Linked DNA regions of Homo sapiens: all the other regions are linked to region 1. The links are contacts of gene promoters, found by promoter capture Hi-C in human tissues and cell types (Jung and others, 2019). All regions are on one chromosome and are shown on one strand. Each heading gives the region's core, a stretch centred on a gene start or on the middle of the fragment in contact. The rest is flanking DNA. Distances are from core to core; before and after follow the strand shown.

The links. Contacts are between HindIII fragments. The study calls those that stand out against the background at their distance.
Region 2: a fragment that was not itself captured here is called in contact with the fragment with the promoter of PGPEP1L in region 1 in 3 of the 25 tissues and cell types used here (adrenal gland, bladder and mesendoderm cells).
Region 3: a fragment that was not itself captured here is called in contact with the fragment with the promoter of PGPEP1L in region 1 in 2 of the 25 tissues and cell types used here (H1 embryonic stem cells and spleen).
Region 4: a contact is called between a fragment that was not itself captured here and the fragment with the promoter of PGPEP1L in region 1, in 4 of the 25 tissues and cell types used here (H1 embryonic stem cells, aorta, liver and 1 more).
Region 5: a fragment that was not itself captured here is called in contact with the fragment with the promoter of PGPEP1L in region 1 in 3 of the 25 tissues and cell types used here (mesenchymal stem cells, mesendoderm cells and thymus).

The regions. Positions count from the first base shown.
Region 1 is chr15:99,005,515-99,011,275 of GRCh38, reverse strand. PGPEP1L (pyroglutamyl-peptidase I like) reads left to right here and starts at 3,484. Exons shown (of 5, transcript NM_001167902.2): 1 at 3,484-3,917; 2 at 5,620-5,761. The HindIII fragment of the contact is 12,693 bases long and covers 1-5,761 here.
Region 2 is chr15:98,881,147-98,886,907 of GRCh38, reverse strand. The region is part of intron 2 of IGF1R (insulin like growth factor 1 receptor); the gene reads right to left. Among named protein-coding and RNA genes, the nearest start is that of MIR4714, 100 kb to the right of the region's middle. RefSeq lists enhancers at 1,888-2,480, 2,481-3,073. The HindIII fragment of the contact is 5,456 bases long and covers 1-4,904 here.
Region 3 is chr15:98,907,032-98,912,792 of GRCh38, reverse strand. IGF1R (insulin like growth factor 1 receptor) reads right to left here. Exons shown (of 21, transcript NM_000875.5): 6 at 3,894-4,108; 7 at 1,352-1,478. Among named protein-coding and RNA genes, the nearest start is that of PGPEP1L, 98 kb to the left of the region's middle. RefSeq lists an enhancer at 4,427-4,927. The HindIII fragment of the contact is 5,382 bases long and covers 1-4,692 here.
Region 4 is chr15:98,925,719-98,931,479 of GRCh38, reverse strand. IGF1R (insulin like growth factor 1 receptor) reads right to left here. Exons shown (of 21, transcript NM_000875.5): 14 at 1,820-1,922; 15 at 1,175-1,245. Among named protein-coding and RNA genes, the nearest start is that of PGPEP1L, 79 kb to the left of the region's middle. The HindIII fragment of the contact is 6,138 bases long and covers 1-5,761 here.
Region 5 is chr15:99,075,900-99,081,660 of GRCh38, reverse strand. No RefSeq gene overlaps it. Among named protein-coding and RNA genes, the nearest start is that of SYNM, 26 kb to the left of the region's middle. The HindIII fragment of the contact is 4,261 bases long and covers 1,221-5,481 here.

The DNA of each region.
Region 1 (5,761 bases), core at 2,235-4,734:
CTATAAATAAGCTGGATCGCTAAGCCTTCCTCAAACCTACTCAGCCACTTAGCACTCACTTCTGACACGAAAGTTACCTTTGGCCCCAGTCAAGAAAAAAAGAAAAATGCCTCTTACATGTGTATACTGGAAAATAGCGGCCCCTCGAAGGCCTGGTGCATGTTTTAGTGTGGCCCCTCTTCCATTCCAAGAGGATATTAAGCTCTCTGCTGCACCCTCCATCTGGCCTCATTTGTCTACACAGGAATTTCCTCAGTGTTAAGAACACAAATGTTCCAGTCATTCCTAAGATATTTGTGAAATTTGAAAGAAAAATCCAGTATTTAAACAATAGGGGTAACAAGCTACTGGATTTTAACAAGTAGAAAACTTCCTTTTGCAACAGTTGTTACTTTGCAGTCAAGGAGCTGTAGTCCCTAAAAAAAAAAGTGATCAAGGCTTAGCAAAAGTCTGAGGGAAAAATATAAGACAGAAGAAAAATAAAGACAAATCCTTCTCCTACAAAATGTAACAGAAATATCACCTTGCGACAGAGTCTCACTCTGTCGCCCAGGCTGGAGTGCAGCATGCGATTTCGGCTCACTGCAAGCTCTGCCTCCCAGGTTCACGCCATTCTCCTCCCTCAGCCTCCCGATTAGCTGCGACTACAGGCACTACTAAAATTAGCCGGGTGTGGTGGTGCACACCTGTAATCCCAGCTACTCAGGAGGCTGAGGCACGAGAATTGCTTGAACCGGGAGGCGGAGGTTGCAGTGAACCGAGATTGCACCACTGCACTCCAGCTTGGGCCACAGAGTGAGACCCTGTCTCAAAAAAAAAAAAAAAAAAGTCTACTACATTTATTCATTTATTTTATGGCCCTTTTCAGAAATCGTGTGCTGGCTGGCCCCTGCTGGGGTACAAAGCTGCAGAGGCAGAGGTATAGAGGAGGGTGAGTTCTGAATCTGCCTTGGTAGAGTGACATTATTGGAGGATCCCTTAGTGCTTTGACAAGAAGCAATTTGGCTATGGGTTGTGTTTTATAGTAGAGCTAAGTCGCTTATCTGGAAACAGTGATGTTTGACATGGAGAAAGACTTATGTTATCATTATTTTGGAAATCACAAGTGCTTCTTGCTGATTGATTTATTTTCTCCCCACCTCCCAAAGGAATTTGACCAGTTTGATTAAATTTCATTTATGTCAAGTGTACAAAATGTGTTGTAAGAGCTGTTTGTGTCAGAGACAGTAAACAAACCCCTTTAATCTTTTTTCTTGCGAGAGCAGGAAGTCACCACTTGCCAATGAGAAATTTAAAACAAATCCCACAAAGTTTTGAGTTTAGTTCAGCACGTGAAATAGTTGAGGTCTTGGGATCTTGTAATCTTGGCAACTCCCATTTGCTGTCCCTGGTGAGAACACTTGTGTACCGTTGCTTACTTTCCGGTTCACTAAGAGGGTCGCACCTTGCCCTCTTAATCCTAGAGTCAAATCTGATTACAAACATTTTCCTCTCGGGAATCCCGCTTGTAAGGAAGATCACTGTGCTCTCTGTTAAATAAAACAGCTCCATTTAGTTGCCTTATTCGTTCTCAGGCTTACTGTATTTCATCAGCCTAAAGACTGTGTTTGACATCAATTATTAGAGACCATTTGTTTTTACAATGGAAAAAGAAATAAAAGTGCAGATGTTGAACCTCAAAATCCATACTTCTCAGAGCTATTTTCATTCCAGAAAGTAGGAATGTGCTGGGGGGTTCTTGTGTGGGGAGAGGGGAGGTGAATGAATACAAAAATAGACATATCACTGTGACTAAGTAAAATATTTTGTGTTGTTTTTTCTATTAATTTCAAAATTAGAGAAAACTTTAGAACAGAAAAAAATAAGTGAATTATGGGAAAGTGAAAACTGCAGGACACATTCCAGTTTAGTTAAAATAATAGCTCCTGTCAAATCAAAAAAAAAATGATGAAAATTTCAGCTTTGTTATCAGAAAAGTAGTATGGTTAAAGATGGGCAGTCTTTGCACTTAAGGAGTCTCCTTAAACACAAGTTCCCATTCCCAGACCTCATAGGTGAATGTTGATAGCAGAGTTGGACCCTAGCAGCAACCAACTTTACAAATGTGGGCATTTCTGGACGGGCGCGGTGGCTCACGCCTGTAATCACAGCACTTTGGGAGGCCGAGGCAGGTGGATCACGAGGTCAGGAGTTCAAGACCAGCCTGGCCAAGATGGTCAAACTCTGTCTCTACTAAAAATACAAAAAATAGCCAGGGCTGGTGGCAGGTGCCTGTAATCCCAGCTACTCCGGAGGCTGAGGGAGAGAACTGCTTGAACCTGGGAGGCGGAGGCTGCAGTGAGCCGAGATCGCGCCACTGCACTCCAGCCTGGGCAACAGAGCGAGACTACATCTGAAAAAAAAAAAAAAAGAAGAAGTGGGCATTTCTTAATGGTCCAATCTCTTCCTTTAACTGTGCAGAGGAAGCCAAGCCCCCACTGAGAGGTGACAACATGCTGGTAGGCCTCGCAGCCGTCACTCACTCTCGGCTCCTCTGCCTGGGCTCCCACTTTAACGGCACTTGAGGAGCCCTTCAGCCCGCCGCTGCACTGTGGGAGCCCCTTCCTGGGCTGGCCAAAGCCAGAGCCGGCTCCCTCAGCTTGCGGGGAGGTGTGGAGGGAGAGACGCGGGCGGGAACCGGGGCTGCACGCCGCGCTTGCGCGCCAGTGCGAGTTCCGGGTGGGCGTGGGCTCGGCGGGCCCCGCACTCCAAGCAGCCAGCCCGCCCCGCCGGCCACGGGCAGTGAGGGGCTTAGCACCTGGGCCAGCAGCTGTTAGTGCTCGACTTCTCGCGGGGCCTTAGCTGCCTCCGTGCGGGGCATGGCTCGGGACCTGCAGCCCGCCATACCTGAGCCTCCTCCCCCGCGTCATGGGCTCCTGCGCGGCCTGAGCCTCCCCCACGAGTGCCGCCCCCTGCTCCACAGGACCCAGTCCCATCGACCACCCAACGGCTGAGGAGTGCAGGCGCACTGCACAGGACTGGCAGGCAGCTCCACCTGCGGCCCTGGTGCGGGATCCACTGGGTGAAGCCAGCTGGGCTTCTGAGTCTGGAAGGGACTTGGAGAACCTTTATGTTTAACTAAGGGATTGTAAATACACCAATGGGCACTCTGTATCTAGCTCAAGGTTTGTAAACACACCAATCAGCACCCTGTGTCTAGCTCAGGGTTTGTGAATGCACCAATCGACGCTCTGTATCTAGCTACTCTGGTGGGGACTTGGAGAACCTTTGTGTCCACACTCTGTATCTAGCTAATCTAGTGGGGACGTGGAGAACTTTTGTGTCCAGCTCCAGGATTGTAAACGCACCCATCAGCACCCTGTCAAAACGGACCAATCAGCTCTCTGTAAAACAGACCAATCGGCTCTCTGTAAAATGGACCAATCAGCAGGATGTGGGTGGGGCCAGATAAGAGAATAAAAGCAGGCTGCCCCAGGTAGCAGTAGCAACTTGCTGGAGTCGCCTTCTGTGCTGTGGAAGTTTTGTTGTTTTGCTTGTTTGCAATAACCGTTGCTGCTGCTTACTGTTTGGGTCCGCACTGCCTTTATGAGCTGTAACGCTCACCGTGAAGGTCTGCAGCTTCGTTCTTAAAGCCAGCCACATCACGGACCCACCGGGAGAAACGAATAACTCCAAACACGCCACCTTAAGAGCCGTAGCACTCATGATGAAGGTCCGTAGCTTCACTCCTGAAGTCAGCGAGATCACGAATCTGCCAGAAGGAAGAAACTCCGAACACATGCGAGCATCAGAAGAAACAAACTTGGGACACGCTGCCTTTAAAAACTGTAACACTCACCGCCAGGGTCCGCGGCTTCGTTCTTGAAGTCAGTGAGACCAAGAATCCGCCGATTCTGGACACACCATGACGGAACTAGGTAAGTGATAGGAGCTAGGAGAGCTGCTCACCAGAGGAGGTAGAGACCAAGTCTACAAGTGCATCCGGGGTATATTGAGAAACCGGGTAACTTCTGTGAAATGAGGCAAAGTACAAAAATCCTCTGCATCCCACTCATGGCAAGGTGGGCCCAGCTTCTCAGGACAGGGAGTGGGAGACTAGTGGGAGCAAATGGCGCTTCCCACCTGTTGGCAGTGAAGAGGCCTGCAGCCCACACCAGGAGCTAATTAAAGGGAATTGTTCCTGGTTCAGAATCCCAGAAAGCCACCAAGGGGGGTCTAATCCGCGGGGGTGATCCCAATTAAAAGGGAGCGCTTTATATCAGGAGGACAATTCAGCAGATGGAGCCACGTGGTCCTGCTGTCACACTGAGCTCTCTAGAGGCCGCAGGGTGCTTGAGAGGCTCTGCCTGCTTCCCTGAAGGGAGCTTCTCCTCCCCAGACCTAGATGGGGACAGAGAATCATGGGTCTTCTTCCTCTTAATATACAGCTTCAGGAAAAAAGTATTTTCAGTTTAAAAAAAAGTTTAAGAATATTTTTAGAGACAGGGTCTCACTCTGTCACCCAGGGTGGAGTGCAGAGGTGCAGTTACGACTGACGGCTCAAGTGATCCTCCCGCTTCAGCCTCCCTGAGAAGCCAGGACTATGGGCATATACCACGTTTTGAAAAAAATAATTGATGCAGTCTTGCCACGTTGCCCAGGTTGATCTTGAACTCCTGGCCTCAGGCTATCCTCCTACCTTGGCCTCTCAAAATGCTGAAATTAAAGGCGTGAGCCAGTGCACCTGGCCAAAAGTTTGTTTTGTTTTTAAATAGAATTCTCCGAAAGATCAAGATATTGGAAAACAGCTTTTTCGATAGAGGAAATAGCCTCAAATGTTAGCCTTTTTCAGTTATTCTGACACATTAAAAAGAGGACTGTCTGCAGAGCCAGGTGGCATGCCACGGCTGTGGCTCACTGTCAGTGGCATGTTTAAGGAGTCCAGCACAGTGTCAAGAAAGCACTTTTCGCAGGTAGAACGCAGGGTGGTGAGCACAGAGCTAGCAAGCTTGCACAGACGCTAGCTAGGTGGCAAGCCTCTGTTCCTCAGGGCTGATGAAGCTGGGGACAGTGCCTGGGGCACAGAAAGAATCCATACAGGATCCGGTGCTGCGATCCTCGTTTCTCAAAACAGGAAACCTGAGCACAGAGGTTAACTTCCCTGAGGACCCACAGCTCCTAGGCAGCGGTGCTTGCAATCAATATTTTAAAGGCAGGCGCCATAAGATTCATCTATGGTTTTCTCTCTTTTTTTTCTGCTCACATCTCACATATTTTGTGGAATTAGTTTTCAGAGCAATCAAATTTTACCAAATCATAATGGCCAAACACAATGAGGGGCTCTGGCAGGGATTACTAAAGAGGAAAAAATAAGATCTAAGTAAACGACTTGTAGGGTAGCCCACAGTTCCTAGGACAGTACCTCTTTGAGCACCATGTGGTGTTCCGTCCCAGACATCCTTCTGTCCCAGGCAAACCGGGACAGCTGGTAGCCAAACCCTTAGCTCACCTTTGAACCATCCTGAACAACAAAGTGACCCAGACTCAAATGTCCAGAAAGTCCCTGCTGGCGCTCCAACCCGCTGTCCTGAGCTGGATCGTTCTGCTTTCAAGGGGCATTGCTTTATCACCCTCCCCTAGATCCTTGGCCTTTCGGGGCCCAGAACGCTACGGACGCCGGGCGGCCAGGAGGGGTTGGGCTCCCGCTCCACCCCGGTCCCCGGCGAGCACGCGGCCAGGCAGAGAAGGTGCCCGGAGCTCAGAGCGCGCAGAGCCCGGCCGC
Region 2 (5,761 bases), core at 927-3,426, 120 kb after region 1:
ACCATGCTCCCCTCACTGAAGCACAACCTGAAAGGATTCTAGGAGGCAAGCAAGAGAACGTGAGCAAGTGTGGGATTAGAGAGTCCTGGAGCCAGCCCCAGAGCCCGCTGTAAATTTTGTCTCATCTCAATGTATATAAATATTATTAGTGTTCAGGACCATTAAGGGATTTCTTGAAAAGCCCCGGGCAGTGTGTCTCGCCAGCAGATGGATGGCTGTTCCATGCGAGCGCCAAAACTGAGAATTTCACCTAGTACTACCAAATTTCCAATTACGGCGCTATGGGGGAAAGGAAGGGACCCTCTTCTCTGGCTTCCATGAATAAACACACTGAGTGCGATTAAAGGCATTTCAGCTTTTAAAAATAGGAGGAAAATAGAAGCTGCTATAAACTAACAAATATACAGAGAAAAAAGCAAACTGATTTTGCCCATGAGATCCTTCTATTCCTTGGAATTCTTACAGTGACCAACAATAAAAACAAAGGCCCATCTAAACTGTTGGAAAAGCTAACATGTCCCACATCCACCACTAAAAGGATTGGTTCAGGTTTGCAATCACATAAAAACGAGGCACTGCACTTAAAAGCTCCTTCTCTTCATTTTTTTTCCTTGGGGGGAGAGGAAAAAGAGTCACACACATCAGCCTTTAACTCTCTCCCTCTCCAGAGTCCTCGAATGTATCAAATTATTTCTAGAGTTTTTAAAAAACCATTTGTTTTTGTTCTTGCCAGAGTTTTTTTTTTAAATAATCATTAGTGCAGAGAAACCATTTTTAAAAGCATACCATAGGCTGGGCGTGGTGGCTCACGCCTGTGATCCCAGCACTTTGGGAGGCCGAGGCGGGCAGATCAACTGAGGTCAGGAGTTCAAGACCAGCCTGCCCAACATGGCGAAACCCCATCTCTTACTAAAAATACAAAAATTAGCCAGGTGTGGTGGCACGTGCCTGTGATCCCAGCTACTTGGGAGGCTGAGGCAGGAGAATCGTTTGAACCCAGGAGGCGGAGGTTGCAGTGAGCCAAGATTGCACCATTTTACTCCAGCCTGAGGGACAAGAACAAAACTCTATCTCCAAAAAAAAAAAAAAAATAGGAGACTCAACCTCTTCACAAGGAACAAAACATGAAAGAGGGGCCACCTGGCCATACAATATTTCATAATGCAAACAATTTTATCCCCAATCATTTCTAAAGGAAAGAACTTATTCTGCAGATGTTCAAATAAGGTAAAGCTTCTGAATCAAAATACGGAAGAGTTTAGGGCCATCTCAGCTGTTTCTGGGTTGCCCTAAGGTACACACCACTGTTCCATATAAACGCAGGGAGGCTTTCCCTAGCAGGCATGCATCCTCGTGCAGGAGGATTAACCGCTCCTAACTTCACGAAAGTGAGCTTCAACCTCCAAAGTGCATCAGAGAGACACATGGTCCAAAGAGATTTTATGATTCTCTTGCCTTGCCAGGAGAGGAACTGACCATGAGACAACACGGGGAGGAGAAGGAAAGGGAGAGGGGTGAGGGCAAGCGAGGGGCTCTAGGTGAACTGACATGCAGCGTCCTGCCCCAGGCCGAACAGAAGTCCACCCAGGACGTGGGCATTCTTCTCCAGAAAGGACTTAGCTCAGCTAAGCAAATGAGAAAGGCTTCTTTTGATTTTAGCAGTCAGGCCTCAGGTAGGTTACACCCTATAGACGTGGCAGGTTCGGGGACTCAGCCCAGCCCTCCCAGGGCTCACAGCCTGAGGACAAGCAGTGAGAATATGAGCCAGTAGCAAGCAAAGGGTAGCTTAGGGCTGCCTGCCAGGGGAAGGGACTTCCAGGCCAAAGCTGGACAAGTGAGTAGGAGCTAGCAGGTGCATAGGGATGCTGGCAGAGCCAACAGAGAGTGCGGGCCAAGAGAAGCAAAGGTAACAAAGACAACCTCAGCATGACTGAAGGATGGAAGCACTGGAGACAGAGGGGAGGGGAGACTGGGAGGAAAGATGGTGTGCCCTGAGGTAGGGAGAGCCTGGAACAGCCTTTTAATCCAGCAATAGGAGTTTGGACTACTCTTAAGAGGAAAAATACTATTTTAAGCAGGAGGCACATGATCAGATGTGCATTCTAGCCTCAGTAGCCCAGATCAAGAGGACAGCAGTGCAGATGAGGAAAAGCAGGGTAGATTCAAGATATGTCCAGGACCATCTGGAAGGGTACAGAATTTCTTTTTTTTTTTTTTTTTTTTTGAGACGGAGTGTCACTCTGTCACCAGGCTGGAGTGCAGTGGCTCAATCTCAGCTCACTGCAAGCTCCAGCTTTGCCTTCCGGATTCTTGCCATTCTCCTGTAGCTGGGACTACAGGCGCCCGCCACCATGCCCAGCTAATTTTTTGTATTTTTAGCAGAGACAGGGTTTCACCGTGTTACCCAGGATGGTCTCAATCTCCTGACCTCGTGATCCTCCTGCCTTGGCCTCCCAAAGTGCTGGGATTACAGGTGTGAGCCACCAGGCCTGGCCGGGTACAGAACTTTTCTTTTGAGGGGTACAGAAAGATCAGCTCAGTCTGGGACGTGTTGTTTTTGTGTACACATCCAAACGGAAATGCCTGGCGTGCAGTTTGTGTGGATGCAATCAGGCGTGATCTGAGCTGGAAACATCCTGGGGTGTGGTCAGCAGATGGATGGAGAAGGGACTGTGGGTTGGGTGTGGGGGAGGTCTGAGGATGCCCGGGGGACCCAGGAGAGATCACAGCACACACCGTGGCCAAGGCTGCCACCGTTCACAGGGGCCTAGCAGCCCCCCAGTGGAGTGTTCACTCCTTTAGAATACCCCCATTCCTTTAAAAGAAATGTGCTCGAGGGGATTACAGTATATTCATCTGTGAATTCCCAGACCCATGTTTCACCCTTCTCTGTCCCCAAGTCTAGGTAACAATAATAATGTATTTGTGGAATTATCTGGAGCCTCATGAACATGGTACCAAGGGCCTAAAGGCAAAGAGTTTTCAACAAAGGGTTGGTTTTTGCTGCCTTCTGTCTGGTCTTCAAACTAACCAGAGTGACAATAAAAAGAGCCCCTCCCTCAGGGGCTGCCTAGGAAGCCTGTGTGCCCTGCTGCTTTTCCAGGGAGGCAGAGGCAGCCCGGCGAACACTTTCGACAGAAAGGGTATCTTTATTTTCAGCACCCATGAATGACTGCAGAGGGACTCAGGGAACCCACGGCTGGCACAGGAGGAGGACAGCCTAGCCGGGGCAGGCGCTGAGTCCACTCAGCTGACAGGTGTGCCACCATGCTCTCGCCTCGTAAAATAATCTTCAATCAATCCTCGCTTCTGTCCTCTCACACACACTACTCCCCATCCCTATCACCCCAGGGAAGAAGAGAGTGACGGTGAGCACAGGCTTCTCAGGCTGAGAGAGCCACCGTATTACAGCTTGGCTATTAGTTTGAAGTTCTTTAAACAAGTCTGCTAGGTTGGAAAAGGAAGCTTAGTTGAAAATGCTTAGACCCACGAGGTAAAACCAAATGCTGCACATACACACAGTAAAGACATATTTTCTCAAAATGAAGACAAGAGGATTCTGTCAAGCTTCTGGTCATCCTAAGGAATGGTTGGAAAAAAACCCCACTGAGCCACTGCCTAGAGATTCCAGGAAGAGTTTAAAACAACTTCCAAACAGGTTTCTGCCTGGAGCTGCAGCCATTATGTGGAATCAGCTACGCACGGCAAAAGAAAGTTCAAGTGGCAAGCGCTGTGTCTTAAACGTTCACAAAAGAAAATCACATCGGCAACATTTCTCAATGCCAAAAAGAAACAACCTCTTGTTCTAGAGAAAATATCCCACTATAGTAGTTAGACCCAGAAGAAACACTTTATGGTCAGAATGGAAGATACCACAGTTTGTCTGTCTGAACCTAAATAAAAAGGTTTTCAAGAGAACCAGCACTTTGGGGGTGCACCCAGGAGCACACAGAAAGGTACACCTGAGCAGAATTCTCAGTGTGCACAGCAGGGCTGGTTAGTCAGGGGGCTGGACCACACCTTTCTGAACCTGTTAAGATAGCAGGCCTGAAAGCTCTCATTTTCTCCCAAGTCCAGTGTGTACAAGGAGATCTTGCAGTCTTTGAAAGGGGTTGAGACTCCATTTTGAGTCTGCTGTCTTCCTAACAGGAAGCCTAGACAAGGGTGAACTTCCTAATGTACTAGGGTATACAGAAGGGGCAAGGAGTTACATATTTTCACCCCTCATCACTGTCCCTATTCACTCTCTTCTTCTACATTCCCATCCCTCTGAGGTGACACTGGGTTGCAGGACTGCTTTATGGCATGCAAAGGCAGGCAAGAAGCTCCTAGGGCCATGACATCCACCTGGCCCAGTTTACAAGCAACAAGCACTTATGCAGTCCTTTCTCCCTTTCATCCAATCACAGATTCTTAGATCTGAAGAGAAATTTACAGTCATCCATTGCATACTGATCTGAAACACTTCTTTACAAAAACCTGGGTGACTCTTCAAACAAAGTCCAAGGGAGCTCATTACTTTCCAGGAAGTGCTACTCCACTGCCAGATGGCACCCATCTTGACGAACTTCCTCCATACACATATTAAAAATGCGCTTTCCTGTACTGGACCCTCCCCAGCCCTCATGCAGGTGTCTGACACGCAGGGGAAGTGAGTGCTGCTTTGTACAGGTCAGACTTTCAAACAATATTCCAAGATGACGGTCACGGCTTCCCTCTGAACATCTTACTCAGTCACCACTCACGCAACACGCCCTAGACCTATTCTAACAGTACAGAGGCAGTCTGAACAGTGTAGAAATGCTCTTTTTTGCCCAAAGCAGCTTGCTTGCCGTTTCTCTGTGTGATCTTAAGAATAACTATCATCAAACATAGCTGGCTCACTCTGAGCTTCTAGTCACCTGAAGTTCCAGGTCTTCTTGTTCACAAAAACTATTCATATCTCTACTATATAAATGTAATTTATACTGGAGATTCTGAATACAGGACTTTGTATTAATATACAGTTAATATTCACTAAATATATTCCATGCGCCTTACAACACATTAAGCATCTCACATATATTTCTGCATTTAATTTAATCCCCCTAATGATCACAAGGGGGCAGTATCATTATCCTCATTTGTACATGACCAAATGTTCACACCAAGAGCACACAGCTGTTACACTGCAAACCTGGGCTTGGAACCCAGATCCTCCTGACTGTTGATTGCAGCCTCTTCCCCCACCGTGTTTATGGTGGTATGTGGTTGCAGCATGTTTCTATTGTCTAAAAGGAAGGGCCGGCCAGGCACAGTGGCTCACGCCTGTAATCCCAGCACTTTGGAAGGCCGAGACGGGTGGATCACCTGAGGTCAAGAGTTCAAGACCAGCCTGGTCAACATGGTGAAAGCCGATCTCTACTAAAAATACAAAAATTAGCTAGGTGTGGTGGTGGGCACACCTGTAGTCCTAGCTACTCGGGAGGCCGAGGCAGGAGAATTGCTTGAACCCGGGAGGCGGAGGTTGCAGTGAGCTGAGATCGCGCCACTGCGCTCCAGCCTGGGTGACAGAGTGAGACTCCATCTCAAAAATAAATAAATAAATGAATGAATATTTTAAAAATAATAAAAGGAAGGGGCTATGGGAGTTCATCTCATGCTACTTTTCCATTTAAGCATGTATCCATCAGGAAGAAATACAGCACCCTTTTCTCCGCCACACTAAGAGGTGTATCACTTAGACTGAAGGACAAAACCCAGGCAACATGACACTCTGGAA
Region 3 (5,761 bases), core at 752-3,251, 97 kb after region 1:
CCTTAAGAACATATGCAAAAACTATTTTTCTCTCTTCTGATTGCAGCATTTTTTCATCAAGAAAAAAACAAGCATAGTCAGTTAATGCAAATATCAGATATTGAAAGAAGGTAACTGTTGGAGAAAAATGACTTTCCTACAGACAAACAGAAGTAGCTTCTAAAATTCAGATTGCTCATAAACAATTCTGATGCTTAAGCATCTTATAATATTCAAATATTTAGTTTCCAGATTGCCTTAGAAACCAGCATCAAGTCCTCAGTGAAATTACCAGCTGACATTGCCAAAGCACTGGTGTGACTATCAGAGAATATAGTACTTCGCACAGATGCATGGTTGGGTAGGTATTTTATATTTATCAGCTAAAAGGGCTGGACAGCTGCTGGCCGCTGGCTTCTGAAACAAACATGAACAAAACACCGTCTGCTGTCATGGGATGGGAGATCATGAGGGGCTCCCCTGTGTACAAACTCTGAAAGCCTAGTAATCCTAAGTACCCAATTTCTCATTCATAGGACCCCAGCTCTGGCAGGAGGAAAGAGTACAAGATGCTGTCATAAGGTGCCTCTGGTTGCTGCTCTTTGGAAGCCACACATCTGGGAGAGAGAACTATGGGATTAACATGGGACCTGGGTAAGGGGGATGGCTAAGTAGACCGGGGTAGCCACCTGGATATAGAAGGCAAAGGAAGGAAGAGGGAGATCAAAGAGGGCTGCAGTCGGGAGGAATAAGCCTCGGCTGCTTAGATGGGGGAATGTCATGTGATCACACAGGAAAAGCTCCCAACAGAGTCTAGGAGAAGTCACAAAAGGCTCAAGACATGAAGGTTGTTCTCTCTCCACTTTTCTTCGCTTGTTTGGAAGGCTCATGACCTAGAGCAGAGGGCCACAGCTTGGGAGAGGCACACAGAGAGAGAGACAGGAATAAGATGATACAAAAGAGCCACGTGCCTGCAGGGTGTTCCTGGAGTAGGCCTAGTAGGTAAGGAGGCTGAAACGATATTTCAGTGAAGTCCCCCATCATCGTTCATGAGTCTGGACTGACCTAATTCTGGAAAAAGCAAGCTTTCCCCATTTTGGGTTTATTTTATTCAAACACCTCTAATCACTCACTAAAGAATGACAGGCCTCGAGCTAACACTTTCCCAATCATGGCTGTCACTGGCTGTGACTGACATCACAGGGACAGCCCGAGAGGGTGCATGAGGATGAAGTAGGGATGTTTGGCGTGGCTCTCCCTGGGGACTCTGCTGACCCCCTGTATTCAGCCAGCCCATTCAAGGATCGAAAGACTGGCCTCTCCCATTCGTAGCCCTGTCAACAGAATGGCATCACCCAAAGCAGAAACTCACGCTTCCTTGTAGTAAACGGTGAAGCTGATGAGATCCCTGTAGTCAGGGGGCCGGTACCGGTGCCAGGTTATGATGATGCGATTCTTCGACGTGGTGGTGGAGGTGAAATGCAGGACGTCACTTTCACCTGGGGCAAAGAGTACATCCGTGAGTGACAGAGATTCATGTGTCTCTGAAAAGCACCTGTCTTGCTTGGCACTGCTTCCCCCTTCCCCAAAGCTGGCTGTATATGCTAAGTTCCCTTCTGGGCTTCCTCAGTGGCTTTCTCGTTTTCCACTAAGAAATCATACATTTCACTATGCAGAGCTCCAAGGGCTCCATCCTTTGTTTTAGGTCAATCAGTTACGCTGGCTACTTGCCCAGGGACTTGGACATGAACCTGGGTTTCCTAACCTGAAAACAAGGGGCGACTTCAGTGAACGAGGTGAACTTATCTTTCTTCTCCATCCCTAAGATCCTGGCTATGAAAGGGGGCCTGGTAGGGTGAAGGTGAGCCTTTAGGCTGCCCTGAAACTTCTTAAGAGAGACGATGACACTTGTTCTGCAGTTGTGGATATCTGCCTGTTCGTGTACAACCACCAAAGACAGGTAAGAGACTACAGGTGTGCCACAGAAAGGAACTTTTCTTGGTCTAAACTTGGTATCAAACTGGAAGGACACAGGAACTCCTGTGAGGCCTCCAGCTAGGGCTGACAAACAACGGGAGGCTGGATTAAGCACTGACAAGAAGATCTCACTTGGCCAAGCCTAACGTGCTCTATGGGAAGTAGCCTGGCTGGCGGGTATGGCAGGGAAGCTGTGCCAAGTGTCTCTCTTATTCCTTGGACCAAATTCAAACTACGATAAGGACCAGGGAAAGACTGATGACTGCCCACCCTCATGGAGACCCAGAGCTCTCTGACGAATTGTCCTTTCGCCCTCTTATCTGCCTGAATCCCACTACACACTCAAGAGGTGAAGCAGAGGGACTGAAGACAGTAAAAGAGCTAAGAAGTCTTTAGGACAAAATGTGCGCAACTGAGATTGGGAAATGTCACAGTTCCTGCTGAAGTGTTATTTAGAGAGGAAACCATGATTTTGCTTTCAAAAGAAAATAAACGGCTACTATGTATTATGATCTGACAGGTCAGACTGGCTGACTCTAAGGAGACAAGCACTCTGAAATACTCGGATACATCCGATTTTACTATGATCTGAACAGGGAGCAAGGCAGGGGCTTTGCAGGGATAGAGTGAGCAGGGGGCGGGAGGCGGCGCTGGTCGTCAGCCTGCTGTTCAGCCCTAGGTCAGTCAGCGTGCTTCCCTCTAAGATCCCCCAGAGCAACAAGTGTCGCCAGGTAAATCCAGACACCAGCGAAACAAGCCAAAGCCAAACACGCATCGGTTCTGATTTGCCTCCCTGCATGTGTGTCTGTCTGCACACACGCACAAATCACCCTTCATCATACAAATTACTTTTTTTCTAATACCCTTCCCTTATTAAAAGCCAAAGGTGAAAAGACGATTTACTTTTATAACCCTATCCAGCCAGAGAGCCACGCCATTCTCAACAGCCGTATTCTACACAGGGTTAGATGAGAAAGGCACTGCTGTATCTCTGATATGAGACCTTAAAGTTTTATAAACAGTACAAGGCTGTAATTATATTGTTCTCAATTTAAAAAGCAATATCAACTCAGGGCTGCAGGCTCACTCCATCTTTTTCATGTTGGGGTGGGAGAAACAAGGCGGCCGAGTGTAAGGGACAGGAAACCCGTGGCCCACAGGGGCTGCGCTTAGGGCAGAGCCCCCTCCACCCCACAGGCCTGTGCTTCCCTTCTGTGGGAGCAGAAGGGTAGAGCTCATAGGGCTGAAGCACACTGGCTCTTCCCTGAAAAATAATCGGACAGGGCATGGTGGCTCAAGCCTGTAATCCCAGCACTTTGGGAGGCTGAGGCACGTGGATCATTTGAGGTCAGGAGTTTGAGGCCAGCCTGGCCAACATGATGAAATCCCGTCTCTACTAAAAATCCAAAAATTAGCTGGGCATGGTGGCAGGTGTCTGTAATCTCAGCTGCTCGGGAGGCTGAGGCATGAGAACCGCTTGAACCGAGGTGGAGGTTACAGTGAGCCAAGATCATGCCACTGCACCCCAGCCTGGGTGACAGAGTGAGACTCCATCTCAAAAAAAAAAAAAAAAAAGAAAAAAAAAGAAAAAAAAGAAAAGAAAAAAGAAAGAGAAATATCTAACTGTGCACCTGTGTATAAAAGGACATTTAACTGTGCATTCTGTAAGCAGCACTTTAAAGTTTGAGAACCTACTTATAAGTGTTTCACACACTCACAGAGATGTACAGAATTTATAAATACGAATACATCACGTATCTGCCCACTACTGATTGTGATGACATATAAGTAGGAGCAAAGTGCTAGTTAAGATGGTCTAGTGGTCCCCCATGTGAAACCAGGAGGGGCCGCAGAGGAAAGCTGCCATCACACATGGGAGGAGGGTCTGCTGTTATCATGATGGTTGGGCCCACGGTGTTTTGGATGCTGTCACTCACAGGAGGCTCTCTCCCCGTTGTTCCTGGTGTTTATGTCCCCTTTGCTTTGGCGCCCTTTAGTCCCCGTCACTTCCTCCATGCGGTAAATTTCGGAAACACATAATTTGGGATTGAAAGCAAAGTACATTTTCCCTGCTTTGATGGTCAGGTTGCGGTGGTCCCAGTCCCACAGTTGCTGCAAGTTCTGGTTGTCGAGGACGTAGAAGGAGTAATTCCTAGAAGCACAGAAATCGATGTTAGCGCACCTGCCCTTGGCCACAGTCCCCTCTAGCCTGCTGGCCACGTAACACAGGTCCTCTTTGCCACCTGCTCCACAATACATTTCCTTTGCCAATAAGAGATTTAGTTATTAACACTATAGGAGAACAGACAGTTGCTGTTAACAATGGCAGCAACATGATTCAAGGATAACATATCAAAATCGGTAAGATGCTAATTAATTCTATGACCACTATTACCATCAAATAATGCTTCTTGTACCAGAGGATGTTACTAGAATCATTCCCAAGAAATGCCTTTGGTTATTTTTCTCAGCCAAGTATGTACAACGTGCTTGAAAGCAGTCCATGAGAGAACAGACATGCTCTGCTACCCAATCGGAACAGCGTACACTTTGCTCTAAAGTCTCCCATTATCCATGGAAGTAAATCCTGCCCAATCAGCAGCATGATGGGATAGGAGACAGCATGAGACAGGGAGACAAGCTTGTGGGGGGTCAACCCTGGGCCTTCTCCCTCCCCCATTCATCTTTCATTCTGAGCAGCCCCAGCTCCAGTCCCTGGAGGTGTGGGGGAGGAGGAAGAGCCACTAACATGCAGTGCTCTTGGGCCTCTCATCCAGGCAAGAGGACTCGGAGTCCAACACAGTGGTTCTCCAAGTTCAGTGTGCACAAAGCTTGTTTGCAAAGGGCTGGGCCCCACCCCCAGAGCTTCTGATTCAGCTGGGGTGGGCAAAGAATCTGCATTTATCACAAATCCCAGGTGGTGCTGACCCCTGCTGTGGTCCCTGGACCACACGTGGAGAACCAGCAATCTAGGAGAGGCTGAGTTCCAGTGAGGTGGTGGAGGACCAAAGCCCACCAAACCAGACGTGGCTTCTGCCCCAGAGGGTGTGCACACGAGTAGCAGATCCAACCAGCACAGGAAGCCGTTCTATCTGGCTACCCAGGTGGCAGGACAAGTCCATCCCTGGAGAGGCAAGAAAGCAGACAGCTACGGCTTAGGTCTAGAGAAAGATCCCCGCAGTGGGCCTTTCTCTCTGGCTTCCCCAGGAAGGCAGCAGACAATGCCAGGGTTGACTTCTGAGTCCTCTGTGCTGATGGGCCTGATCCCCATGGACCGTGAATCCTTCTTCTCCTCTTCCTGCTCTGCTTCTTACTAAGTTTGGGAATCAGTGCAGTACTTTGAGTGACTTCTAAGATCCACTCACAGATCTAATGTATAAACACACAAAGGAGAAAGAACCCCAGCCCTCCCTGCAGAGCCAGCGTAGCCAGGACAAAACAGAACCCCTAAGGCTTCGTCTGCCCTGGAGGCTATGTCCATTGGGGATCTCTCTGCATCTGGTGAGGGTCTTCATTTACACCCAAACCAGGACCTCTAACCAGCTGGTCAATCCTCAGCCTGATTCTCATTTACAGTAAAGCACAAATTATGGTTACAATGCTGCCAAGCAGCCCTGTGACATTTTCCTGAACATTCACAAAGGGACGTCAGACCAGGAAGGAGTTCAGAGACTGGGACCCAGGACCAGAAATGCCATGAATGAGCTGCACAGCCATGCGCAGATCCCTTAGTGCTATCTGTAGCCCTGTTTACTCACTCGTAGGACAACAAGGGGAATGCACAGGTGACATCTAAGCTCCCTGT
Region 4 (5,761 bases), core at 1,555-4,054, 79 kb after region 1:
TATAAACTGAATTAGAAATTATTAAAGAAACCATAGTAAAACCCTACATAGTATAACGGTGTTTTCACATTATTAAAGTATTTTCTTATGTTTTCTTATTTGATCACAATAATTAGAATAATCATGTCTCTTTATTTCACATCTCCTGCATCTACTTTCACTTCTCCCGAGGCAAGAAGACAGCAAACACTTTTTCTAAATGTACTCACTCAACATCATGCACTTATTTATTATTCATTTGATGAATCCGGTCCAGCCCCTCCTGAGGGCTGTTTCCTTGCCTGCCCGGGGGACCTCACAGCCCTTTCCACAGTGATTCCATTCTCCTCCTGACTTCTCAACTGTCTAACCATGTGAGCCTGCACAAGTTTTTTCCCAGAGTTCATTTCCTCACCTGCAGATGGGCATTAAGAAAACGCACATTGCAGGGGTTTAAGAAACAAATGGGATGGTGTTTGTAAAAGCCCCTAGCAAAGTGCCAGTTAAGGGTCCTAGTATCACTGGACTCAGTGACCAACCCCTCACCCTAATCCGACTCACTCAAAAGGTCTGGATATAAAAATGCTAGAAAGAGCAAAAAAGGAAATAACCATTGAGGATCACCCAACTTCCATGTCAGACCTTCCCAGCCACTTAACTGAATGGCCCTCATTAGTTATTACCAAGGGGAATGTGAATGAGCCACGAGCGTATGACCCTAGTCGGAAGGGAATGACAGAAAAATTCCATGATAAAAAAAAAAGCAGAGCTGTAATTCATCAAAGACAATTATAATGAGATGATACTCAAGCTGAAACTAGTTTAAAAGGACTGTTTTGTCAGCTGCAGCATATCCTCTGACTAGATGTTAACAATTAAAAAGCTGTTTTCATTCTAGCATAACATCTCAAGCAATTAAATAAATTGATTACTGCGCTGGCCACATTCATCTCTAAAGCCTGTGTTTCCTTGGGGCACCCCATACAGTCCCACAAGTTTTGACATATTCACTGAACTGCTAAAAACTTTGATTAAAAAAAAAAAGAAAGAAAGAAATATTAATGAAGACAGATCCAAGGCCAAAGGTAGCTCAAAATAATGCAAACCTCCTTCCTTTCCCAAATTAGCAACCCTCCTGAAAGCTCCCGATCTACCTGCCCTGCACGCTGGCAGTGCTGGTGGCCCGGACTCTTACCATCAGCAGCGCTGAAGTACTCCGGGTTCACAGAGGCATACAGCACTCCATTCCCCAGCCTGCTGTTATTTCTGTCAAAAAGATTAAATTCACGTTAACAAAACCCCACCTCCATACATTCCTGTATATACTTTCATCTTCGCTACAACAGTTTCATTTATCCTCTCTCACACGGTATCAGAACAGAATGGGGAGAGCTTACTGTCTACAGCAGCTCTTGTCTACACTCCCAATTCAGGCCTGGGTGAGCCAGCAGACATTTGCTAACACATCTTCTGGCTTCCTCAGTAGCCTGAGATTAGCGCTTTTTAAGAAACATCTGTTTCTTTACTTCATTGGAAATAAAAAGGCTTATTTGATTGGGAAGGCTAGCGCATCGCGTTTGGAAAAGTATGCACCAGCAGCAGTATCTGTATACCAGAAAAGCCAGCCAGGGGAAGGTCTGTACCATCGAAAAATTATTTTGGCTGTTGTTAAAATCATTAGAAAAGGTTCTCTTTTCCTGGAAGAACATTTGATGGGAAAATCAGGTTTTCCAGTCCATAAAATATTTCCTTGAAATCTTCAAAAATATCACCTTCACTCACATTCAAATCATCAAACCACTCAGCCACAGAAAGTGTCATAACTTTGCACATCACTGACCTCTTTCTATGGAAGACGTACAGCATAATCACCAACCCTCCCACGATCAACAGGACAGCGACGGGCAGAGCGATGATCAGATGGATGAAGTTTTCATATCCTGCTGCAGCAAAGAGGAGGAAATGATAAAATATCACCAGGTGAACAATTTGCTCATTTCATTTCTTCACATTCAGTTGGAAGTATGAAAAAAATACCTGTATATTCGTTTACTCCCCATCATACAGTAAGAATTCCTGAAGGTAAATGGTGTCAGAAATAGAACACGGCAAACAAACAATTATTTGAAAAAAGAGTAAATATGTGCAGACTGAGGCATATACTCATTTTTTAAAGTACAGTATATTCTGGTGCAATAGTTTCAATGATAGACTGAAGAAAAATAATCTTTGTACGCAGTTTAATGACTGTTAGTGAAAATGCATACATTTGACACTAATTTCCCACATTCCACAGAATGTTCCAGGGTTTGGTCCATGTCCCCGGTACCCAGCCTAGCATCTGCCATACAAGTGTTGGTTCTGTTGGTAAGCGGTCTTTGTGATCTCACACCTGTAAAAGGACTCAAATGCTTGCAGCAGCAAGCATTCTATTTCTAATAAATAGAATGAAAATTTCTATTCATTTTCATAAAATGAATAGAAATTCTTACATCTATGTACAGTCTACATCTATGTATAGGTCAAGTCCTGCTGGCCTCAATCTTTGAGATAGTTCCACAGACAATTTAAAATAAACACACACACACATGCACACACTGGACGGCACCCCTTTCCAATGCCGCTGCAGACATTTGAGTCCTGCTACAAGTCTAAGACCACAGAAGCCACTGATCATCAGAACCAGCACTTGTATGGCAGATGCTAGGCTGGGCACCAGGCACATGGACCCATACCCTGGAACATTCTGTGGGACATGGGAAATTAGTGTCAACAGGTAGCATGACAACTAGAAAAGTGGACTTCACATATGGCAACAATTCAGAGAGGAAGGGAGAGGAGAGAAGGGAGTCGAGGGAACCTCCCCAAGGGAAAACTTGTTTATGATATGCTTTCCTTGGGGGTTGTGGGGAAATGGCTTTCCTAGAAAATGATGATACTGGAGAGAAGTCAGGGCCAGCTCACAAGGGACCCAGCCCAAGCTAAGCAGTTTCACCCTCATTCTGCAGATTAAAAGGAGTCAGCGAAAGCTTTCAGGCCCAGCAGTGAACTGATCAGATTCGCGTTCCAGGGAAATGGCTGTGCTGAGGACAGACGGAGGGACCTGGCAGTAAGAGAAGGCACTGTCATGTCTTGGAGAATTGGGGGGACATGCCATGTCTCCAGGGCATGCTCTGCATTACCCAGTTCAGACCTACAAAGAAGTCACTGATCCTTGTCTTTACACCAGGCAGACTCACAGAGATGATCTGGCTTGGTAAGTCATGGCCCCAGGATGAGGCTCATACAGTATGACAGCTCATACCATCCCCCCAAGGCGAGTGACCTGGAGTCTGAGCTGTGGCGGTGCTGGTGGTGACAGAGGGCTGGATTCCAGAGACATTTAAGAGGCAGAATCCATGAGGCTTGGGTTGGAATGAAAAAGGGGTGGCTGAACAGAAAGAAGAGTGAAGGATGCTGTGAGGTTCCTGGCTTGGGTAACAAATGGATTACAAGACCACTGACTGAGCTAAGGAGCAAAGGAGAGAAGAGGCCTTTCGAGGGCAACAACTGTGATTTTGGTTTTGGCACAAGGAATCTGAGACCTCTCTGGGACGTCCAAATACAGATGTCTATGTGGAAATGGGCCTGGAATCACTGGGGATCAAGTAAACATTAATCGTAAGTCCCCTATCAATGATTATTTTGCCATGGAAAACTGTGATCATGGTTACTCTTTAAAGACTACTACAGCTATTTTAATTTTTAAAATTAGAAGTATTTTAATCGAAGAAAGAAATATTTTTATTGATATTGTAGCTCTCAAAATGGATGCAGGCTCCAGCATTTTGCAATTCCTAAAAACACTCAGAGGTGATCATTACCAACGGAAAGCTGGCAGATTTTTCTTTCTTCCCCCAAGGCCCTTATATCACTGTTTATATCACTTATACTACTGGTCAGGCTGTACTGTGTTCTTTTTGAGTTTCACATTTCAACAGGGACATGGAGAAAATGGAACACATCCAGAGAATAACAAAAATGATTAAATGGCTAGGAAACTGGTGTATGATATTGGGCTACAAGAAAAGGCCAAAAGACCTGAGATTATTTCATCTGGAAAAGAGAAGTCTGAGGAGTAATTTAATAGTATTCAGGCACACAAGGAGTTCCTAAAAGGAAGGCAGTTGCCTGAAAGCTTCCAAACCTTCCATCTCCTCTGAGGATTAAATAAGAGGAAATGAGACTAAACTGTAGCAGGACAGAGTCTTGTCTGACATAAGGAAAAATTTCTCAACAGTAAGGCCAGCACGCAGATCCAATTTCCCTGCAGTACGTGATAACATCTGCTGGAAAAATTCTATCAGAAGGACTCCCGATTTCCCACTGGCATCCTGGCACTTACAAGGTTAAAAATGGAGCAGCAAAGCCAGACAGGAACATGTCATGTCACCAAAACAAGCTGAGTTCACTCAACCCCAGAAGCCAAGGTTGCTGTTTCACAGATCACAGACCCCCAAACTAGGATCTGTTTCTAGGAGATGGAGGGGAGGAAAAAGAGGAGGGAAGGAGGCTGGGGAAAGATAGAAAGCAAGCAAGCCACTACCCTGGACAAGGCTGCAGGAATATTATGAAGCTTCTGGGTGCTGCAAAGGTGGCATAGACTAACTGGTGAGACTAGGTTAACTGGACTAGATGGAACAATTCAGACTATTTTAATTGACAAAATTATCTGCCTAAACATCCATTTACCCCTAAAAACCTGAACCCAGGAACAGTGCCAGGCACATAAAATGTTGGCTCAAGATTTGCAGTTCTATTCACCCCATCCTGCTTTTGCTGTCTGTATTAGGATTTTCAGATATCACAAACAGATTAGAATATCTGGTGCTGACCAGGTGACTACTGGAGATCTTTTTTAAAATTAATTAATTTTAATATACAAATAAAAATTGTATATTTATCATGTACAACATATTGTTTTGAAATATGCATACATTGTAGAACAGCTGAATGAGCCTAATTAACATATGTATTACATCACATTTTTTTGTGTGTGGTGAGAACACTTAAAATCTATTGTCTCAGCAATTTTTAAGAATACATCATTATTACTGTCATCATGTACAATATATCTATTGAACTTATTCCTCCTATCTAACTGAAATTTTGTATCCTTTGACTAACATCTCCCCAAATCTGCTCCCTCACCCTCAGCCCCTGGTAACCTCCATTCTACTCTCCATGAGCTTAACTTCTTAGATTCCGCATTATCAGAAAGATCATGTGGTATTTCTCTTTCTGTGTCTGGCTTATTTAACTTAACATCATGTCCTCCAGGTTCATCCAGGTTGCCACAAACGACATTTTTCTTTTCTAATTTATGGTAGAATAGTATTCTATAATGTATATGTACCAGGTTTTCTTTATCCATTCATATACATAGTGATGGACATCAGGTGGATTCCATGTCTTGGCCACTGTGAATAGTGCTGCAGTGAACATGGGAGTGCAGAGAGCTGTTTGACATACCTATTTCATTGCCTTTGGAAATATACTAGAAGTGAGATTGCTGGACCTATTGAGTGCGCTGTTTTTTGTTTTTTTTCCTTTTTTCTTGAGATGGAGTTCTGCTCTGTCACCCAGGCTGGAGTGCAGTGACATATCTTGGCTCACTGCAACCTCTGCCTCCCAGGTTCAAGAGATTCTCTTGCCTCAACCTCCCAAGTAGCTGGGATTACAGGCGTGTACCACCACCCCCAACTAATTTTTTTATTTTTAGTAGAGACGGGGTTTCACCCAT
Region 5 (5,761 bases), core at 2,102-4,601, 71 kb before region 1:
TCAGCCTCCTGAGTAGCTGGGATTACAGTTGCCCACCACCATGCCTGGCTAATTTTTGTATTTCTAGTAGAGACAGAGTTTCACCAAGTTGGCCAGGCTGGTCTTGAACTCTTGAACTCAAGTGATCCATCCACCTCAGCCTCCCAAAGTGCTGGGATTACAGGCATAAGCCACCATGCCCAGCCAATATTTTACTTTCTTTTGTTTTTTTGTATCCTGTGAAAGAAATCTTTGTCTATCCCAAGGTCATGAAGGCATTCTCCTATATTGTCTTTTATATGTTTTCTTGTTTTACCTTTTATATTTTGATTTATAATCCATCTGGAACTGATTTTAGTGTAAAATGTTTATAGAGATTAACATAAACATTGATTTCTAATTGACCCAGCACTGTTTATTGAAAAGATCATACCTTCCCATTGCTCCGACTTGTCACTTTTGTCATAAATTGAGCATGTGTGTGTACCTCTAGACTATTCTGTTCTATTCGTCATTTGTCTAATCTTGCTCCAAATACCACATTGTCTTAATTATTGAGCTTCATAAGAAGTCTCAATATCCTCTAGTATAAGTCCTCTTATTTTCCTTCAAGATTGGCTTGGTTATTTTTGGCTCTTTGTCTTTCTATATAAATTTTACAAGCAACTTGTGAATTTACACACACACATACAATCTCCTAGAATTTTTATTGGAATTGTATTGATTCTATAGATCAATTTTGGGGGAGAAATTACATTTTTACAATATCGAGGGTCCATGTGAGTTAACCAGCAAAGAGCTTTTTCAAGCTTTATATTTTCTATGATTTTACTCAATGAGAATAAGTAAAGCTAATAATCAAAATAACAACAATAATTTTAATACCTAACATTTGTAATAGTTACTACACACTGGATTTTTGGGTTAAGTGCTGTATAGCCATTATATTATTTACTTAGAAAAATTAACTGTTAAAATTTACCAAAAATTATGAGACCTCCATGAAGAAAGCTATACATTTTGTTACAGGGTGTAAAAACAATATTTCAACTAATTGTGAGACACAGGATGTCCTTGAATGGGAAGAATTAATCATCATAAATGTCAGTGATTTCCAAATAAATATGTACCTTAAATTAATTCCAATCAGAATATCAATGGTGTTTTCCTGGGGCTATACAAAAAGTACTTAGCATTTATATTGGAGAAATTCTAAATGTTTTAGAACTGACAACAAAAATATTTAATTGTGAAAAGACAGTGGGTGGGATTCCCTTACCAGCTATTAAAACTTTCTAGAAAACTAATATAATAATTTTAAAACTGTATGACTTTAGCTTATAAATAAGTGTACAGATCAGAAGACCAGAAAGTCAAAAAAAATCTGAGTATATATTCAAATTTAATACATGATAAAGATGGCATTTTAGTTCAGTGGGAGAGAAGATGATTTATTTAATTAATACTGCTAACATAATTGGTTATTGATCTGGAAAATAACACCTCCAGCCATGAATAAAATCATTATGAATGAATTAACCCTAAATGAAAAATAAAAAAATGGAATAAATTTAGGAGAAAATGTGTATAATTTCAAGATTGGAGCATGGCATGGGTGGGGGGTATTGCTTATGCATAACAGGAAATCTAGAATCCAGAAGAGAAAAGACAAGCTTGACTATAAAAAGTTAAAACATGGCCAGGTGCAGTGACTCATGACTGTAATCCCAACACTTTGCCAGGCCAAGGTGGGAGGATCACTTGAGGACGCCAAGAGAAGCCAGGGCAACCTAGGGAGACCCTGTCTTTACAAAAAAAATTTATAAATTAGCCAGGCATGGAGGCAGAAGTGGGAGAATTGTCTGAGCCCAGGAGTTCGTGATTGGGCCACTGCACTCCAGCCTGGGCAACAGAGCAAGACCTTGTCTCAAATAAATAAATAAATAAAAAGTAATAAAAGTTAAAACACAAGAACAGATTGGGGAAAATATCTGCAACATTCTTGATTTCTGAGTTAATATCTGTAATATATAAGGAGCTCTTGGAACTGATAAGGAAAAAAACTTACCCAATAGAAATATGCAGAAAGGACGTGACTGGGCAATACATAGGAAGGGAAATGAAAATGGTCAATAAATGAAAGATCCCCAGACTCACTAGACAGGGAAATGCAATGTATTTTATAAGGTAACATGATAGCATTTCTCACAAATCATATTGGCAAGAATTAAAAAGCTTGATAGCATTCAGTGCTTATGAAGGTGTAGATGGAACAGTTCATACAGTGTTAGTGGGAGAGTGAATTGCTGTCCTTTGGATGAAGAACGCTGGCCAGAAGCTTTGGTTAAATGTCAAACATATACACCATCTAACCAAAGAAATCCACTGGTGGATGTTATACCTCAAAGGACACATATTTACGGATGCTTTTTCATTTTTCACAGCTATTGAAAATCAGGCCTTATTTCTGGGCTCTCTGCTCTGTTCCACTGGTCTAAATGTCTGTTTTTGTACCAGTACCATGCTGTTTTGATTACTGTAGCCCTGTAGTAAAATGTGAAGTCGAGTAAGGTAATGCCTCCAGCTTTGTTCTTTTTGGTTAGGATTGCCTTAGCTATTTGCGCTCTTTTTTGGTTCCATATGAATTTTTAAATAGTTTTTTCTAGATCTCTGAAGAATGTCCTTGGTAGTTTGATAGGAATAGCATTGAATAAGGCCACATACCTACAACCATCTGATCTCTGGCAAAGCTGACAAAAACAAGCAATGGGGAAAGAGCTCCCTGTTTGATAAGTGGTGCTGGGATAACTGTCTAGTCATATGCAGAAGATTGAAATTAGACCCCTTCCTTACACCATATGCAAAAATCAACTCAAGATGAATTCAAGGCTTAAATGTAAAACCCAAAACTATAAAAGCCTTGGAAGACAACCTAAGCAACACCATTCTGGATATAGGGACTGGCAAAGATTTCATGGTGAAGACACCAAAAGCAATTTCCACAAAAGCAAAAATTGACAAATGGGATCTAATAAAATGTGGGAGCTTCTGCACAGCAAAAGAAACTATCAACAAAGTAAACAGACAACCTACAGAATGGCAGAAAATATTTGCAAGGTCTAATATTCAGCATCTATAAGGAGAAAACAACCTAATTAAAGAGTGGGCAAAGAACATGAATAGACACTTTTCAAAAGAAGACATATGTGGCCAACAAGCGTAAGAAAAAAAGCTCAAGATCACTGATCATTTGAGAAATGCAAATAAAAACTGCAGTGAGATACCATCTCACACCAGTCAGAATGGCTACTATTAAAAAGTGAAAAAATAACAGATGCTGGTGAGGTTGTGGAGAAAAGGGAATGCTTATACACTGTTGATGGGAGTGTAAATTGGTTCAACCATTGTGAAAAGCAGAGTGGCGATTCCCAAAAGAGCTAAAAACAGAACCACCATTCGACCCAGCAATCCCATTACTGGGTATATACCCAAAGGAATATAAATCATTCTATTATAAAGATACATGCACATTATGTTCACTGAAGCACTATTCACAATAGCAAAAACATGGAATCAACCTAAATGCCCATCAATAGTAGACTTTATAAAGAAGATATGGTACATATACACCATGAAATACCATACAGCCATAAAAAAGAACAAGATCATGCCATTTGCAGAAACATGGATGGAGCTGGAGGCCATTATCCTTAGCAAACTAACACAGGAATAGAAAACCAAATACTGCATGTTCTCACTTATAAGTGGGAGTCCAACGATGAGAAGACATGGACACAAAAAAGAGAACAGACACTGAGGACCACCTAAGGGTGGAGGGAGGAAGGAGGAAGAAGATCAGAAAAAAATAACTATTGGGAACTACGCTTCATACTGGGGTGACAAAATAGTCTGTACGTCAAACCTCCATAACATGAGTTTACCTATATAACAAACCTGCGCATATACCCCTGAACCTAAAATAAAAGTTTTTTAAAAAGAAAATGAGTTAGATCTAGCGTATTGACTATATGAGATATCCATAACATATTAAGTTGAAAAAGCAATGTTAAAGTACTACTGTAAGCCAGGCATGGTGGCTCATGCCTGTAATCCCAATACTTTGGGAGGCTGAGGTAGGTGGATCACTTGAGGTCAGGAGTTCAAGACAGCCTGGCCAACATGGCAAAACCCCATCTGTACTAAAAATACAAAAATTAGCCGAGCGTGGTGGCACACGCCTGTAGTCCCAGTTACTCGGGAGGCTGAGGCACAAGAATCGCTTGGACCCAGGAAGCAGAGGTTGCAGTGAGCCGAGATCTCACCACTGCACTCCAGCCTGGGGGACAGAGTGAGACCCTGTCTAAACAAAATCAATAAAATCCAAGTATGAAGAAGAAGGAAAAAAGCAACCTCTATATATGCTTTATACAGGAAATGTTTTTTATGATACATGTGATTTATAATCACTGCATAAAGTGTTTCTACCTTTTAATCCATTGTTTTGGTTGCAAAGGTCACCAGTTCTCAAGCTTGGCTGCCCTTTGGAATCACCTGGGGATTTTTAAAAACGCTGATGTCTGGGCCCTACATCCAGAGATTCTGATTTAATTGTGATGGGGTACGGCCTGGACATCAGATTTTTAAAGGCTCCTCAGGTGATTTTCATGTGAAGCAAACCCTGAGGACCAGTGGCATAGATAACTGAGGTCTGAAGCCCAATTTTGGAATAGTTTGACATATGACCTGTGAAGCTATTTTTGCAATTGTCCTGTTAACCACTAGATGGCGTGTTATCCACACTACAGCATTTCGACAACCAGGGTTTTGCCGAACTCTTGGGGAGGTGAAGGACGGAGGCAAGCAGGAAGCAACCAAGGATCGAACGGAACAGACCTGGGACCAGGAATTGTGCCAGATTCGGGCCTCATCCTGCATCACGTAGTGAGCATACAGCTTTTTTTTAAGTTCTGGGGGAAAAAATTATCATCATTAAGCCTGACTTTCCTTCAAGTCAGAGAGGAGCTGCTCCTTAGTCTCTTCCTGTTTCAGTGTCTTTTCTTGGATGTGAGTTACAGAAAGTCATTCTTTGTGGAAAGGCCACACCCTCTGTTGTTTGGCTGCAAGGGTGAAATGGAAGGATGCTCTTTGGAAATCTCTTAATTAAAAGTAAATAATTGACTGTGTAGTAAACAGCCAGAGGGGCAATATTTAAACCCTATTTATAGATTCAGATTAGTGGTGGGAGTAAATAGGACAGTCAGGAGAAAACTTAAATTAAGAAGATTCCCGTCACCCTCACACACAAGAGTGTGATTTTTTTTTCTGAAAACAAATACCTCTGGGCTTCATTTTTCTCCCTTTGATCTCAAAATAAACACCAACCTCCACACTTCTTGGTCATGCACTGCTGGTTCATTAAAGAGCCATATGCTGATTTCCTGTGAGTGTTTAACACGTCATGATTAAGGGCAAAGTCAAGAAACAATTTAAGGACAATTTTTCAATAAAATTAGCTCCAAAACTAAGTGTAATTACTGTCAGTGTTTCTATTATTTGGACTTTTTCCCATCAGAATGTATAAATAGTGTTTTTAATGAATATACAAATTATATGTTTCTGAGAACCAAGAACTCTGACTCCATGAGGAGACAGATAGTGTCTGTATCCCAGGGCAGGTAATTAATGTGAAGGATTCGAGATTTCCTTTGTAGCTATTCATCTATAAAGCAGCCTGTGAGCCATGAGGCCCTGCGGACCATCCCATCAAAAATCTCAGCCAAAA